2 separate regions of the Homo sapiens genome follow, and region 1 is linked to region 2. The links are contacts of gene promoters, found by promoter capture Hi-C in blood cells and fetal thymus (Javierre and others, 2016). All regions are on one chromosome and are shown on one strand. Each heading gives the region's core, a stretch centred on a gene start or on the middle of the fragment in contact. The rest is flanking DNA. Distances are from core to core; before and after follow the strand shown. Region 1 overlaps ZDHHC13 (zDHHC palmitoyltransferase 13). Region 2 holds the start of C11orf58 (chromosome 11 open reading frame 58).

The links. The method cuts DNA at HindIII sites, captures the fragments that hold promoters and counts their contacts. A CHiCAGO score of 5 or more calls a contact.
Region 1: a fragment that was not itself captured here is called in contact with the fragment with the promoter of C11orf58 in region 2 in 4 of 17 cell types (non-activated CD4 T cells, total CD8 T cells, fetal thymus and 1 more); the score reaches 10.7 in non-activated CD4 T cells.

What each region holds. Positions count from the first base shown.
Region 1 is chr11:19,120,186-19,124,454 of GRCh38, reverse strand. The region is part of intron 1 of ZDHHC13 (zDHHC palmitoyltransferase 13); the gene reads right to left. Among named protein-coding and RNA genes, the nearest start is that of ZDHHC13, 5.2 kb to the right of the region's middle. The HindIII fragment of the contact is 902 bases long and covers 1,873-2,774 here.
Region 2 is chr11:16,735,447-16,740,271 of GRCh38, reverse strand. C11orf58 (chromosome 11 open reading frame 58) reads right to left here and starts at 1,625. Exons shown (of 5, transcript NM_014267.6): 1 at 1,431-1,625. The coding sequence starts at 1,493. It also overlaps a transcript of SOX6 not described here. RefSeq lists an enhancer at 1,122-1,751. The HindIII fragment of the contact is 4,072 bases long and covers 1-2,716 here.

The DNA of each region.
Region 1 (4,269 bases), core at 1,074-3,573, 2.4 Mb before region 2:
ACAGAAGTGAATACAGGGTTAACAATCCGGACTCTTTCCTCTTCAATACTGTACCACCAGAGATAACCATTATTAACAATTGGGTGCATCTTCCCTCATTATGTATATATATTTTAACATATATAATATTGTGCTATATACATACATACATCCACATTTTTAATCATTTTCTTCTTATACTTATTGAACAAAGAATAGTATCACATTATATACATTATTCTTCAACTTGCTTTTCTCATGTAACAATATATCATGTACAGTCCTGCAGTTCAGTAATATTTCACTATTGTTCCATTGTATATAGATCTAGTATAATTCATTCAACACTCCCCTTTGGTTAGAGACACAGGTTGATTTCAGCCTTTCATATCTATACACAATCAACACCCTGGGCATTCTAATTCTATAGGATTGATTCCTCAAAGTAGGACTGTTGAGTCAAAAAACGTGCATTTTAAACATAAATAGATTCTGACCAAATACTCTCCCCAATTCACAGTCCCAATAGCAAAGTATATACGTGTTCTTTCTCCCTACAAACCTTCCCAGAACTGAATATTATCAATCTTTTTACAACCTTGACACTTTGATGGCTAAAAATGGCATCCTATCTTTCACCTGTACTCCCCTAGTTGCTAATGAGTCTGAGTGTTTTGTTTGTTGTTGTTGTTGTTGTTAGGTATACTGGCTCTCCATATTTTCTCTTTTGTGGATTGCCTTTTCATAGTCTACTTGTTTTTCTAATGAATTGCACATATCTGTTTCTCTTTGTAGGTTAGAAAGATTAAGCCTTTTTTGTTTTGTTTTTGAGATGGGGTATTACTCCGTCACCCAGGCTGGAGTGCAGTGGCACCATCAAATCTCACTACAGCCCTATCTGCTGGGCTCAAGTGATTCTACCACCTGACCCACCGTAGTAGGTAGGACTATAAGCAAGCACTACCACACCCTGCTGATTTTTTTATTCTTCTGTAGATAGGTCTCGTTATGTTGCCCAGACTGGTCTCGTTATGTTGCCCAGACTGGTCTTAAACTCCTGACCTCAAGTTATCCTTCCGTCTTGGCCTCCCAAAGCACTAGGGTTACAGGCATGAGCCACCACACCCCACCCTGACCCTTTGTTTATACACAGATTTTTCATCACAGAAAACTGACTCATTCTAGATACAAATTTGTTGCTTCTTATACTATTTTAAGGCATTAAGGACATCAGCTTTATTTTTCATGTATAAAGTTGAGGAGGTTTACATGTTTTAATGTGAAGAATATCCACAATTGAGAATATTTGTTTAGTCGGCAATTAATTACTGTGTATTTATGATGTACAATTACGCTAAGGGCATATAAGACATGGGTGTCTATCCTCCAGGAATTTAAGTCTAATAAGGGAGATATGTCAGAGACAGAGTGAAATAATAATAGCAGGCAATATGTGATTATATATGATTAAATGGCAACTTTAAGAAACTAGAAAACAGAAGATATCTTCCGTTCATGTCATCATTGTTTACCCGCATGCAGATCAAAGTAAAACCTAAAAATGACTATATTCAAAGCTTGTGTTTGAAGTCAATCATCTACAAAGTGAGGAAAGTACACTCAAAGCCATATATGCAGTGACCCACTAGGTAATGTGAGAAAATGTTAAAGCTTCTATTATAATAATTTTTTATCTTTTTACTTAAAAAGGAAAAATAAAATTTACAAATTTGAGTTTTTAAAGCTTTACCAAATTTATTTTTTCTTTTTAGCACACCTCTGCTGGCAGGAAAGCTTTACTAATTTTTAACGATGGCAGTCTCATTTATTGATATGCCAAGCAGGTCACTCCTTATACTCTGTTTACAAGGTAACCTAAGGGCAGAGAAAGCTTCCACAAACAGAGAGTTGACAGTAGGACCTTCAGCATTTTACAATATATATTAGATTATTTTCAAATTATATTGTTAAATTTTAACTAAATTACCTCTCCCAAAATGAGCAAGTAGCTTAAGCTGATTTCTACAAAGAAGCCATGAATTGAGGTAATAATAATAATAATAATAAGCACAAGCAAATAAGAAAATAGCAGATCAGGAACTCTTTATCAGACACATGAAGTATAAACAAAGATGATCTAATCCAATCTGACAAGTCAGTACCCCCTTGGAAAAAATTCAAAATTGTCAAGAGGCTAAATTGAGGCAGATTTATAACCACCATCTTTAATTCAAATCTTGCCATGAACATATACTGAGCTATTAGTTAATGAATATAATTTAGAAATACATGTCAAATCCTACAATAACATGACCCACGACAATATGAAATTGGCCGCCAGCTCCTATCCCCATGTTCAAACAGAAGAGAGCTGAAATTTTTATTTTCTGTGAAGTTTTCTGTGAAGCAAGGTCAGGAAAAGGAGGGCAAGGACACAACAGAGAAGAAGACAGGTAACCTTGAGTCTCAAAAGATAGGGAAGAAGACACATTGAGTCCCTGCTTCCACAGTATTCTCTCAGCCTAATCTCTCCTGATTGCACTGATGACACGGGCCAAATAACCAAATTCCTGGTACTGCCACATTGACTGTATGATAGTGGTGAATCATCTACTCTATTTTTGGCTCATTTCTACGTTGGTAAAGTGAAAGGGACATATCAATACACCCATAAAGCTCCTTCTAAGTCTCATGTTGCATGGTCCTAAGGTGAGCTATTACAATAGTCACTATTGACTTGTGAACTGGTAAAGAATTTACTGTATGAACAAACACACTACATGGATAAAGAAGCTTAACTGCTACATGGCTGCCTACAATGTTAAGGTAACAGAACAGACTAAGCAAATTCTCATGATGCCAGCCAACTCCCAAGAGTTTTCATCAATTATTCATTCAGGGAAATATAAAGAACACCTATACAAATCACAGAAGTAGGTAATCAGGGATAAAAGATGAATAAGACACAGTTCCTTCCATAATACATTCATTCTAGACATTTACTGAATGCCTACTACGTGCTGGGCACTATTGTAGACACAGCAACATGGCAATGAACAACAGACAAGGTCCTTGGTTTTCAAGGAACTTATATTCTAGTTAGGGATATACTCCCTTCCCCATTTTCAGAGCAGAGTAAAATACAGACTACTCCTCAGACCTTGACCTAAAGAATGGGTGGACTCCAAGTGGCAGCAAACAATCAAACAAGATCGTATCATGACTGGACCACCTGACTAGCAATGAAAATGCACTGCATCAGGAGCCCTGACACCTGGGCTCTGCTAACTTGCCATGAACCTTTGGAAAGTAAGTTATTATTTTTGCGTCTTGAATTCATGGGAAAAGTTAAAGGGCTAGACTAGATAAATGGTTCTCAAACCTTCCAAATGTCATGGACCTTTTTGAAAATGTTACCAAAATTAAGGCCTCTCTACTTAAGAGAAATGCACAACTGCACATGTAAACTAACTTTTCAAGATGTTCACTAATTTCAAGATGTTCACTAACGCCCTGAAGCTTATCCTATATGCCAGTTTAAGAATCTCTCAACTAGGTAATTCACTGAAAAGCCTTCCAGCTCCAAGTATTCTATGATTCTATTCCATTTTACTTCCTCTCGTCTTCCTAGGATTCCAGTCTACAACCACCTCAAGATACTAGAATAAAATGGTTTTTTTGTTGTTTTTGTTTTAATTAAGATACAAAGGGAAAAAAAATTTAAAGAGGGAAAAAAGAGAGATACCAAGAAAGAAATATGTAGCTAGCTCACTGTCCTCCACAGAAGAGTGAAAAGCAGAACAAGATATTATGAAAATTATCTAACAGACATATGAATACATGTGTGGTAATTTTTACAACATAGCCTCAAAATTATTTGCTACTTCTCCATCAAGAGGTAAAGGTCTATGTCCCTTCCTCTTGACTCTGAGCTTTGTGACTACCTCACAAATAATATATTTCAGAAGTGATGCTGTGCCAGTTTGCAGGCTCAGGCCCTAGAAACTGGCAGCTTCTTCTTCCTGGCTCTTTCATTAGATGGTCACTAATGGAACTCAGCCACTATACTGTGCAGAGGCCCAGGTCACGTGTAGGTGTCTCTACTGAAAGTTAACTGCCAGATGTAAGTGAAGACACTCATAGATACTGGCCCCAGCTCTCAATTCATCTCCAGCTTATGAGTCTTTGCAGCTGAGGCTCTAGACATGGTGGAACAGAAACAAACCAACCCTGCTGCAGTCTCTCCAAGTCCCTGACACACAGAGTCCATGAGCATGACAAAGCCATGTT
Region 2 (4,825 bases), core at 376-2,875:
CACCTGGAGTTTTCTGTCACGCTAAAAGATATTTCCAAACAGGTGTCTGATATCCTAGCAATCAAGTCACATTTAAAGATCAGGAGGAAAACAATGTAACAGCTTTTTAAGTGGCAGCCAGGTTACTCAAAAGTGTGGATCAATTCCTGACAAAACCTGAATTACCATATTAACAAGATCTAAAATCCAGTAGCAGAAATAACAGAGAGCAAGAATAAACTTCTCTAGGTGCCCATTCATCCCCAAATCTTTACTGATTGCTAATCTTTCTGCAGAGCTGAAGTCGATTCCTTTAAAGATCCTTAATATTCCGGTCCTCGCCCCACCTCCCATCAGAGGGGTAGGTCTTAACATTATCTCATTTGCTACAAAGTAGTATTCAGTGGGCTTTTAAAATTTTATGAAGAGCGTTGAAATGCACTATCGAAAAATTTAAAGCTCTATGTATTCAGAAATTGACAGTACTTTAAACAAAACCGAAAAAAAACCTAGATATCCCTTCATCTTCCTTAAAGATGACCTCTCCGCGCTCTCTCCAACAATTTTCCCCATCAACGTTGCCAAGACACTTATCCATTGTATGAAGGACCTAGTTTTACGTTTACTGGTTACCTACCGTTTCCATGACACTGGGCTAGGAGCTAGGACAAATATACAAAAAGGCCTAAAATAAGCATCATATTTCTCTCCGAATTCCCAACACCCGGCAGTGCAGTAAATATTTAACGGGTTACTTTAAGGGATAAACCGTTTGCTATTAAAACCTATGAGGTGAGGGCTGAGGAAGGGAACGGCATTTGATGGGGAGACGAGGTAAGAAGAACGAGGTATTAATATCCGACATCAAAATGGGCTTCTAGGTCTCAACGTCTTAGACCTCACCACCAGAGCCAGTACCAAATTACACCCGTGGCACAATTTTCGGCTCAATACTGTTCTCGGTTTACCCTTACTAGTGCAGCTAAAGTTAACTCTCAACAGCACATTGTAAAAATCATCCAGGCAGGAAAAATCTGTACAAACGTGCACGAACATTTCGACATTGTCACGGGAACATTTAGAACCCAAAACAGGGAGAGTCTTGCCGTCTCTATACTGAGTACAAAGGCCCGAGAAAGCACTCTCATCGGCCCCCCAAAACGCACGTACGAAATCCCTTGACTAAGCTCTTTCACTCCTCGACCCTCTCAGAATTTCCTTCCTCAATCCCCCTTCCTACGCAGGTCTCCGGCTCTCAGCGTGTGGGCCTCTTCAAACCTTCTGACCCTCATAAAGATTAAGGGAGGCATTTCCCACTCATTCTTCTGGTTTCTTCCCTGGGCTCTCCCGCTGCAGGCCACCTCAGGCGCGTCCTCCTCCAACCACCCTTCCCGGCCTACTCCAGGCTTTAGTAGGCCTCAACCCTCAGCCACTCCGCCATTATTATTTACATCGTCGTCTGGGGAGGCTGAACGCTTCACCCCATGCGGGTGAGACTCTCTGGCAGCACTCATCCTTGCGGGGATCCCGACGAAAAATGCCGAACCCTCTCGCCGCTCTTCCCAGCCGCAAAACCAGCAGCTTACAATCCGCCAAGGGCCCAAGCAGCGCCACTACAGAACGCAGAGCCCCTCCGGGCCTTCTCTGCCACAGTCGTCACCGTTGCGGCCCCTCGCCGCCCCGGGGCACTTTGGGAGTTGTAGTTTTCTGATTCATTGCATACTGGCCCGAATAAAAAAGATGTGTCCGTGACTAAAACTACAATTCCCAGGAAGCCCCGAGGCTCAATTCGCGCTGTGTGGCGGGAGTGCCCTCAGAGGCCCCGCCTTCGGCTGGTGGAGGAAGCGTTCCCGCGGATGTGTATGGCGGTGAGCGTTGGCCGAGAGCTTTGTCGCCACAGGAGGAGGCTTAGAGGGGTTTTTGCCTTTCACCGTGCAACGCTGCCCTACTGGCAAATGTATCATCGTAGCTAGGCACCTATGTTTAAATGTAATGTTTGAGGCTGACTGAATCCTCACGAATACCCTCCACCCAGGACAAAAACCTTAACCAAAAATGGCTTCTACCATTTCCACCCTGGTGTTCTCTATTGCGCGCAGGGGATTTCTAGGTGGTCGGTGATGCTGCTTTCTAAATGTTTTCATGAATATTTCGCTGTTTTCCCATACAGAAATGAGTTCAGTATGTTGTTAAATGTTGGCTAATTGGCGGTTGTTGAAAACGGGGATTTAGCTGAGGGAAATCTGTTAAGTTTTCATATGGCTTTGTGTGAGGTGGGAGTGCTCCTCACTGACCTCGCTGTGGATGTCTGGGCACCGTTACAGTAGGGGCCTTCACCAAGCAAAGTCCATCCCTGCCACAAAAGCCTCTATTTTTTTTCTTTTTTAAAAAAAGTAATTATTGAGGTTAAATTCACATATAAAATTAACCATTTTTTAAAAAGTGTACAATCCACTGTCACTTAGTACATTCACAATCGTGTGCAGCTGTCACCTCTGATTCCAAGAAGTTTCACCACTCCAAAAGGAACCCCAATGCCCGTTAGCAATCCCTCCCCATTTCTCGCCCTCTCTCCAGATTCAAGTGATCACTCCTCTACTCAAAAAGCCCTGCATTTAAAGCTATTTATTGTTCAGATACTGAAGACTATCTCCTACTTTATTAAGGTGTCTGAATTTGTAACCAGGTCTGAACTTAACTTTCTGTCAGAATCCTTGTCCTTAATAATTCTGAAGCTTTCTCACCTTGAATACAAATGTGATTTTTTTTTTTTTTAAGCAAAAATTAGGCCTGGCGCCATGGCTCAGGCCTGTAATCCCCAGCATTTTGGGAGGCTGAGGCGGGTGGATCACGAGGTCAGGAGTTCGAGACCAGCCTGATCAACATGGTGAAACCACGTCTCTACTAAAAATACAAAAATTAGCCTGGCATGATGGCACATGCCTCTAATCCCAGCTACTCGGGAGGCTGAGGCAGGAGAATCGCTTGAACCCGGGAGGCGGAGGTTTCAGCGACCCAAGATGGCGCCACTGCACTCCAGCCTGGGTGACAGAACGAGACTCGGTCTCTAAATAAATAAATAAATAAATAATAAGTGGTATGGATAATACATATCTGCTGTTTCAGAACTGAGAGCAGTCTGTGAAACAATGCTTAGCTATTAGCTTTTGAACTCAGCAATTGCTCTAGTTTCACTGCCTGTGTACAAATATTACTTACCTAGATTTCAGATCCTCACTGAACTGTGACCAGTGGAAGGTAGTTTTTAAATTTATGCAGTCATAGATTCAAATTCTCCCTTATTTTGGAAGCAGAAAAATAGCATAATAGTAAGTACTATAATAGAAAAAGAGATGTCAGGGTTACATTTTATAAGTATAACCAAACAAAGAACATCTTAATGGTTCTGTGGTAAGAATAAATCATAAAGGAGGAGGAGAGTAAACCCAAGAGAAAAAAAAGAAACATTGTTTTAGGAAGTGGTTGATTGCTTTTTGCTAGAATTAAAATATTTTCACTACTACATAATTCTACTTAGGTTCTATTAGTTACAATGAAATTACATTTAAGTTACAGAGTTTTGCAGTTTCGACTACAGTTCACCTCTAATGGGTTTGACAAATGGTGATTTAGAACTATTAGCTATATTACCAAAACAAATAAGATGGCTGAATAGGTACTTTAGACTGCTAAAAGATTTCTGAAATAAGAAAGGATTGTCAATAAGAATAGTAGTTACTATATAATTTTAATTTTACTAGTTGGTGAAAGTCCAGAAAACTTTAATGAGCTAGCAACATGTCTTTTATTTCTTCACCAGAATTGTTGGCACCTGGATGGTAAATCTTCAAGTTACTGTGAAACAAGATCACAAACGAAAAAGTAACATAGGAAATACTAAAGACTGGGACATTTTATCAGATTTTACTCAGTTTCATATACAGAAGGCTATAGGTAAGGATGAAATTATACAGTGTAATAGAATGCATATATGCCACAGAAACTCAGTAATGCTCCTCTTTCTTGTATTGTAAAAACAAAGATACACTATCATGAGTGAAACAATGAAATACCTCCTTCAGAATTGGGACTGTTGCATCTGCATTTTTGTTTCTGGCGCAATGCCTGCCACACGGTAGTTAATAAATGTTTCTGAATTAATATAGGAAGGATGAAATTATATAGTACCAGAGTGGTATCTTATATGAGGCCTAGAAACTCAGCAATGTTCTTCTTTCTTGGGTAGTAAAGACAAGGAGAGGAGGCCCTGTCACTGAGAACTTTACATTTTTTTAAATTTTCCCAACATTTAGCATGTAGTGGGCAGTCACAGATGTTTGTCGAGTACGTGCTCTCAACCAGGGATAGTCATGATTGACCATAGTTAAAACTGAAGAGGAAATAAAGGCTTTGAAGATTATGCTGTGTACAAAAAATCTGCTGTTTCACTTGAGACTAAAAAAAAAAATTCCTAGGGCCTTAATTACAGTTACCATTTATTAAATACCCACCATGTACCATATACTTTGCTAGGTGCTTTTTATAGGTGATTTTTACAATTGACCTCAAAGTTTCACAATAATTTGCAAGAAGTAGGGAATTTTATAGGTAATTAAACTTAAGAAAAGTTAAATACTTGCTTAAAATAATGTAGCTAGTGAATGATTCAGTCCTTAAGTCTAATTCCAAAAGCCAGTGCACTTTCCACTGTGCCAATATAACCCAACATTAAATAAGATGCTTCATATATGTCAGGAAGTGTGCCAAGTTTGAGGAAAACCAGAGTGAATAATGCATAATCCTTTACTGCAAAGAGTTTACAGCTTGGCAGGAGAATGATTAAATG